Linked DNA regions of Homo sapiens: region 2 is linked to region 1. Evidence: promoter capture Hi-C in human tissues and cell types (Jung and others, 2019). All regions are on one chromosome and are shown on one strand. Each heading gives the region's core, a stretch centred on a gene start or on the middle of the fragment in contact. The rest is flanking DNA. Distances are from core to core; before and after follow the strand shown.

Region 1 (3,712 bases), core at 1,110-3,609:
GGGGCGGAGGCCCGGTCGTGTCCTCCCCCCAAGCCCGGCCCGCGCCGGCACCCTCTCCGCAGTCCAGCTCGAGTCTTCGCCCTCATCCTCCAGGCCCCCCAGCCGCAGCCCGGCTCCCCGGACCCCGAGCGCGGCCAGAGAGCTGCGGAGCCCGAGTGCCCCGCGATCTGGGCAGGTATAGGGCAGTGGGGGCCTTGGGTCACCCGCCTGCAGTGGGAGGAGGCAGCTCCTGTCTGTGAACCCAGCTGGGTCGTGGCGAATGCCACGCGGGTGGCTGGTCGCACTACAGCGTGGAAGTGGGTAAGGGCGAGTGGCGACCGTGGCCGAGGCTCGGATTCACGGGTGGAAGCCAGATTCTCCCATGGGGCCCACCACATCTCCTCACTCGAGCCTGTAGCAGCTCTCTCCCCGTCTCGGGTCTTCAGTTGCCGCATCTGTGAAGTGGGTAGATGACCGCTCTTCCTCGCTAAGGGTGGGTCGTGAGGATGAACCCAAGCAGTAGGGGCAAAGCACGCGTGTGGCCTGGCGGAAGCGCTCAGTGGCGCCCCTCTGGGGAGATCTGGGGCGAACCCCTTCTGCTCGCTAGCCTCAGGTCGCTGGGCTGGAAATGGGACTCGTGGAAATCCCATTTTACAAATGTCCGAGGCCTGGGGGGACCCGAAGCCTCTACGGGCGCAGGAGCTGGGAGAGGAGCCCGGAGGCAGGGCCCCGCTGCTCCCCTCGGAGCTCTCACGGGGGGGTGGGGCGAGGAAGAAAGCGCTGGGCGGTCTTGGGGACAAAGGGGTTCCCGGGCCTATGGGCCAAGCAGTTGCTCTGGGCTAGGGACCATCCGCGGGGCCACTGTTTTTCAGCTGGAGAAACGGACCCGAAAGGAAGGGGCCTGCTTGCATCCTGCCTCCGCCCCCGCTGGCACCTGGGGTCAGAGAGAGTTTGGGGACCATGAGGCCAAAAAGCTGCGATCTTCAAGCAGGAAAATACCGCAATTTTGCATTGACAGCGGCGCAACCCACCAAAAGGCTCCATCTGGGCTCCCGCCCGCCTGGAGGCCTCGGGCTTCGGTTGGAGCTGGGCCTGGGGCCTGCAAGTTGTGGCCAGAGAACCCCCCGCGCAGACCGCACTCAGCTGGCTCACCCACAGAAGGAGCAGAACCCGCAGACTAGCTGTGCAAGCTCGGGCAAGTCACTTCTCCTCTCTGAAACGAGAGCCTCAGTTTTCTCCGAGCATAAAGTGGAACATGTTGGCTTTACAGATGGGGTACTGCGGTTTCCATGCAAGAATCTTGGATGAGGAGGGAAGAAAGAGCCAGAGACCCTGTTAATCGTACCCCCCGCACCCCCAAACCCCTGAGAAACAAGAGCATCTGCCCGAGCTGGAGGTGGGGGTCACTGCCGCCTCTGAACAGCTCCCCACCACAATGGAGCCCTCAGACAGTGACTGCAGGAGGGAAGGGGGTTGGTGGATGATGGGCTGGGGTGCCCCAGTTGGCTGTTCTAAGGTAGAGCTCACCCGAGGTCTCCTGGAAACCTGGAGCTGGACACACAGGCCCCAGCCGCCGGGGTTGGGTGGGGGCTGGGCTCAGGCCCTTCTCCCTCTATCTCCAATCCCCTCTCCCCAAGGGTTTCTACTCTCACCGGCTGGAAGCCCATGGCTCCTCTGCACTCCAGGCTCCGAGGCACCCACCCCCACAGGTTCCAGGTTCCAGCCCACCGCCTGGGGAGTTCCAGCCCCTCATCCACCCACCCAGGGAGGGAAGCCTAGACCTGGCCCGGCCGCAGAACCCAGGCTGACAGATGGATGCCGGAGACAGACACACGGATACACAGCAAGACTCAGAGAGAGCCACAGAGACAACACAGAAACTCAGGTGGGGGACAGAGCCCCAAGACAGGCCCAGAGCCCTCCAGACACACTCACAGACCTCTAGGCTCAGACCCACACAGCCTGGTGGATGCCTGGCCAGAGACAGCGGGACACCAGCGGACCTCCATGGGGCTTGTGGTCACAGGCCTGGCTCCTCCCATCGGCAGCCCAGGGAAGAAGAGGGGGTAGCATGGTGGGAGGGTGAGTCTGGGAGACCCCTGGCACCTTCCCTGCCCAGAGCAGGGGGCACCGGTCACTAAGTGGAGCAGGCAGTGGCCGGCCCAGGCTGCAGGGAGGCACTGCAGAAGGAGGCTGGCCATTAGAGGCCTGGGCCAAGGCCCTCACTTACGAAGCGGAAGCAGCGCTCTCACACCGGATGAGGGTGGCAGTGGGCACCAGGGGTCCAGGGGGAGGCTCCGGCAGCCCAGGTGGGACGGTGGCGACTGTGGGTGCGCAGAAACCCCCTCACACCACGGCGGGCGGCAGCCGGACAGCAGGCTGGCCCTGTCCGTCCGTCCTCCTCCTCCTCCCCGCCCTGGTGGGGGGGCCACCGGAGGCCCAATTGGTCTCTGCCCCCACGTGACTCTGCAGGCCTCTCGCCTTCTTTGTTGGTGTTTCTCTTCATTTACGTCTATTTTTTCTTCTTCTCCTAAAAGAAAAAAAATACCCCTATCTATCTGGGGGCTGAGGGTGGGGGCGGAGGCCAAGGCACTGCAGAGGCCTTGGCCAGCTGGCTGTTCCAGGCCCGCTGTGGGAGCCCAGAGGCAGGGACCCCACAGAGGCGGGTAGGCAGCCCCGCTTGTTAGAAACCGGGTGGGAGTGGGGCTTGATTTATGGGCTGCTCCCCCACCCGGCCTGCCGCCTGCTCCTCTCTCCTTGTGAATGGCTACCTCCCTGGGGCCTGGCCTGGCATGGTCTGGCCCAGCCCGGACATTGGAGTAGAGTCAGGACAGGCCAGTGCGGAGGCAAGGCCATGGCGACTTGACTAGGCGGCCTGCTGCTTCCACCTCTTTTTCCTCTTCCATCAGGTGGAAGAAGAGGGGGGCCGGAAGGGGAGCAGGTGAGCGGCCTGGACACCTGGTGCGTGCATGCCACGGTGGCCTCTGAATGTCCTCATCTGCTGTGGGCTGCTGATGTTCCCAGTCGATGGCTGGAAAAACTGAGGCTGGGCTGAGACTGCCTCTGAGGCCAAGTGGTGGCTATAGTGGCCCCAGGTTGAACCAAGTATGAAGCTAGTCCAGGATAGGACAGGGTAGCAGGAAGGGGCCCTTATCTAGAAGGCTAGGCCTCCCTAGACAACCTGGGACGTCCCCATCCAATCTCTGGGCCCAGATGGGCTCTGAAATATCCTGTTCCTGTAGGGCCCGGGTTGCAGGGTGTTGTGCCGCTCCCACGGTGACTGGATCTTTTGTGTGTTCCTCTGTTTGTCTCACATTTACTGAGCGCACACTTAGGGGTCAGGCACTGTTCCAGGCACCAGGGATCCCATAGGAAAGAGAAGAAAAGTCTCTGTCCTCAGAGGATTTACCTCCGTGCCTTTCATCTTGGGAGAGCAGGGAGGGGCACAGGGTGACTATGGGGCAGTCACTGTTGAGAACCACCCCTCCTCCCACATATCCCTTCATTGGAGGAAATAAATAAATCACACCCAACACCTCACTTATCTGGAACAAGAGGGACTTTTCTGGATAAGTGAAGTGAAGCCAACTCTCCCTATATATATTTTTTCATGGAAGGCCACTGAAAAAGTAGAAACGCCAACTATATTTAAAACCTATGTGTTTTCCAGCCAGTCACTGTGGCTCATGCCTGTAATCCCAGCACTTTGGGAGGCCAAGGTGGGCGGATCACC
Region 2 (3,931 bases), core at 628-3,127, 190 kb after region 1:
GACATTCAACAGAATCAAAAATAACCACTATGTCCTATAATGTACTGGTATCGTTTCAGCCAGAACAAATGACATCTGACATTTTAGTTACACTCTGTGTTCTCAACTAAGAAGAAATGCAAGCTTTACATTAGGTGGTGGGTTTTTGGTTTATTTTTTGCTTTTTCAATATGGAAAATAGCTTGTGGACTATCACTAACACCTCTGTGGTAACTTAGTAATGCAGGATCTCAGCAAAGGAGATCATCAATCATGGAGGTCGAGGTTTTTCATCTTCCCCTATGACCTCACCTATAGACCTACCTGCTATTATTATAGGCAAACAAGTAGAAGAAATTTACATGTTTGACTTTGGCTCTGCAGTGATGGGTCTACTCCTAGATATCAACAGTAAGTTCTGTAGTAGACAACAGAAGCAGTATGATGAGTGAGCACTGGAAACATGAAGTCCAGTATTCAAATTCTGGCTTATAACCTTGGCTCCTGGCAATGTAACTTTAGGCAAATCACTTCAAGTTTTTTCATCAGGAAAATGTGGGTTGTTGAGAATTTAATGAGATAAAATATACAAATCCTAGTATATAGCAGATCCCCAATATATGTTAATCTCTTACCCTTGTTAACAATTAAAATACTACTGCAAAATCAGGTATTTTACATTTTTAGAATCACAAAATAATACCATTCAAAGACATTTTCTCAGACATTCATTTGAGTCTGCTTGTACAAATTACTGCACAGTCTATCCCACAGTTCATTAGTTCTCTGCTGCACACAAATTGATTTTATAATTTAAATACTCTCGACTTGAAACCCAGAGAGGAATGTAAGAGCATCCATCAGCGGTGGTCTCACTGCTCACTGGTTCTTGGGATGTGGATGGGAGAATGAAGAAGGGCTATCAGGCCAGCCTTCAGAGGACTCCAAGGAACATTCAACGCTGTCGGTGAGTTTGGGATTTGAAAAAACCACTGACCGTTGACTGTACCTTGGGGTCCTTACAGACGACACTACATTTCCTGAAGCAAAAGAGCAAGCTGTACCTTCACATGTCACATGAGTTCACCAGAAATGGTCCTGCAATCCCCCAAATGTGGTCCAGTGAATTTTATTCCTACTGCTCACTGTTCCTTGCTTTCTGTTGTGTGTTTTATTATTATTTGTTTGTTTTTACAAAAAAAGTGTTTCATTTCAACAAGGTAAGGAGCAGTCCATGATGATATCTAATGTACCTACATGTCTCCTAGATATGCACCATTCTGGTGAGAAACAGGACGTAGCAAGTAAAAATTTATTAAAAATACGTATTTTGTTTTGGAATAAAATCCAGTTAAATAATTACTCCCATTTCTCCCACATCCTCTCAAAATTTTTAATTAGGGGCAAGGGGAGGATTTAATAAGCAAAAATAGCACAAAATTATCCAATTGTGACAGTTCTTATCACATTTCACTTTGAATTATAGTTAATATGGTTAATTTTTGATATCCCAGTTAGAGCATGAGCTATTGCCTTACTAGTGCCCACATATCCCCACATATGCTTATTTAAATGTTTGCTAAATTCAAGCAAAAACTTAGCCCTGGAGTCAGTCAGATCTGGGATGAATCTTGGCTCAAGCCCTTAACTAGTTATTTGACCCCCTAAGCAAGTGTCTCAGTTTTCTCACATATAAAACAGAGGCTAAGAGTACCTATCATGGAGTTTTGAGACTCAATGAGATAATATATAAGGTGCTTTGTACCATTACTAGCCCACAGCAAATGCTCAATATATGTAAGCTGTTATTATTAAACTCCAACATAATCTGCTAATTTACCTCAAAAAAGCACTCATACTTCTCAGTTCAAAACAAAGAGGAAAAGCAGGTCCCTCAGCTGTGGTTTACAGGTACTAATATGCAAGCACTGCCTGTGTGGCGCAGTGCTACCTGTGAGGTTCTCCAAGCACTCCTTCCTTCTCTGAACCACAGCTTCCTCATCTGCAATAACCTCCCAGCTCCAATGTCAATGTTATGGACACCTGTGTGGGCCCTCAATCATGCAGATGGCTGGTTACTAAGGGAGAAGCCAGACACACAGACTTCAAAGAACTGAGATGGAAAAGAAGAGCCAGGAGTCAGCCAGGGAGGGCAAAGGCAACCCCACCAACTGAAAACACTGATGGCTGCACTCAACATTCATTGCTGTCGGTGGGTTTGAGTCTGAATCAACTCACTGATCAATGAATGCAAACTGCGGACCAAACAACCCAAAGGAAGCAAAAGCATGTGCAGAGAGTCGCCTGAGTGCAGCAGCTACTGCTGTGAGTGGGAGCTGCTACTATTTCCAAAACACTAGCTAAAGCTTTTCTTGTTCTCCTTGGTTCTAACATGGAGTAAGTTCTCTAAATTCCTAGTACTTTTCTCCTTTTTCAATAGTCTAGATTTAAGGAAATGATATTTTATAGGAAGAATTAAATACATATCTGGATATCACATCACATTTTAAAAATCAGTACATTCAGAATTTCTAAACAGAATCATATGCTTATTATTTAGAAATTCAAATACAAAAATATACAAAGTAAAAATTGAAAATCCCTTCAATCATCATCTGCAATCCATTTCCTCGGAGGAAAACATGTATAATTATAATAAACTTATTAAGATAATAAATATCATAACTAGAATTTATTTTATATCCTTGAAGACCTTTATCCATACATACACAGATAAATAGCTGTAATTTTGCATGTTTTGGGGGGAGAGTGGCTTAGACAAAAATAAGCTCATTTTTACCTATTGTTCTATAATCTATTTTGTTATTCAGCTATATATCATAGACTTCCACAACAGTCTTTTATGTACTCGTCATTCTTTTAAATGGCTATATAGTATGACTTAATATGAATGTTCTGGTTATTATTCAGATGTACATCAATATTCTCTTTTGACAAAAACTATGAGGCTCATTCATTCTAACCTTTGCAAACCATGTCCCTCAAACAGGAAAAACACCTAAGTGAGATAGAAGATGTACATTTTTCTTAACAAAAAATTTAAATGTAGTATCAACTCTCTAAATCCTGTAACATGAGATAAGCCACTAAATCCCATGTTAAAGAAAGAAAAACAAGGCCCTTGGTCATGAATAATTTATCATACACTTAAGTCTAAGAAGAAGCAGATTCTCATAGCAAAAGTCAAATAAGACAGTAAGAGAAGAGTCTTGTCAAATTAGCCTTGACAATTAAGCAAGCCTTAATTTGACAAGGCTTTCCTGTCAAATTAGGAAGGAGAAGTGATGGGGTAATGAGACAAGAACCAGAAAGAGAAATCAAAGCCAAAAGAAAAATCTAAAGAAAACTATGAGAGTTCAGAGAAAATATCAGGTTCAAGCCAGTGTTTCCCAAACTTCTTGTACACCAGAATCATCTAGAGTTGCTTTTAAAATGGCAAATTCCTGAGCCCTACTCTAGACGAGGTGATTTTGGGTCACTGGAAGCTGGAAGCAAAGTAAATAAAGTTCACTAGCTTAACATCGGCTTCCTGCCCCCATCCCACCACCACATTTCATGTCATCCACTTTTCAACTATTGCCCAACCTTTTGTGTCACCACCTGAAATCGCCACTATTCTGCTGAGTGCAGACAGGTAGAGTCACATTTGTGCTGCTTTTAAGTATCTCCAGACTACATAAAATTTTGCACCATGTTTGGTGGCCAAATATACATCAAATTGTGTCTGATGTTTTATGGAAATGAATGGATTTGGATTTACGCTATCTAAAAAACTAAAACCTACCCAAAGAAATTACCAAAAGGTTTTTTTGTGTGTGTTTTTCTTTCGTTTGTTTGTTTTTTTGAGACAGTCTTGCTCTGTTTCCCAGGCTGGAGTACAGTGATGCGATCTCGGCTCACTGCAACCTCTGCTTCCTGGGTTCAAGTGATT

Evidence for each region. The method cuts DNA at HindIII sites, captures the fragments that hold promoters and counts their contacts. A contact is called where the count stands out against the background at its distance.
Region 2: a contact is called between a fragment that was not itself captured here and the fragment with the promoter of NR5A1 in region 1, in 1 of the 25 tissues and cell types used here (H1 embryonic stem cells).

Annotation. Positions count from the first base shown.
Region 1 is chr9:124,505,040-124,508,751 of GRCh38, forward strand. NR5A1 (nuclear receptor subfamily 5 group A member 1) reads right to left here and starts at 2,360. Exons shown (of 7, transcript NM_004959.5): 1 at 2,210-2,360. RefSeq lists an enhancer at 1-3,346, promoters at 2,117-2,440, 2,311-2,455 and a cis regulatory region at 2,437-2,442. The HindIII fragment of the contact is 26,734 bases long and covers 1-3,712 here.
Region 2 is chr9:124,691,551-124,695,481 of GRCh38, forward strand. The region is part of intron 2 of NR6A1 (nuclear receptor subfamily 6 group A member 1); the gene reads right to left. The region is part of intron 1 of MIR181A2HG (MIR181A2 host gene); the gene reads left to right. MIR181A2 (microRNA 181a-2) reads left to right here and starts at 892; the gene lies at 892-1,001. MIR181B2 (microRNA 181b-2) reads left to right here and starts at 2,160; the gene lies at 2,160-2,248. RefSeq lists an enhancer at 3,472-3,931. The HindIII fragment of the contact is 6,533 bases long and covers 1-3,931 here.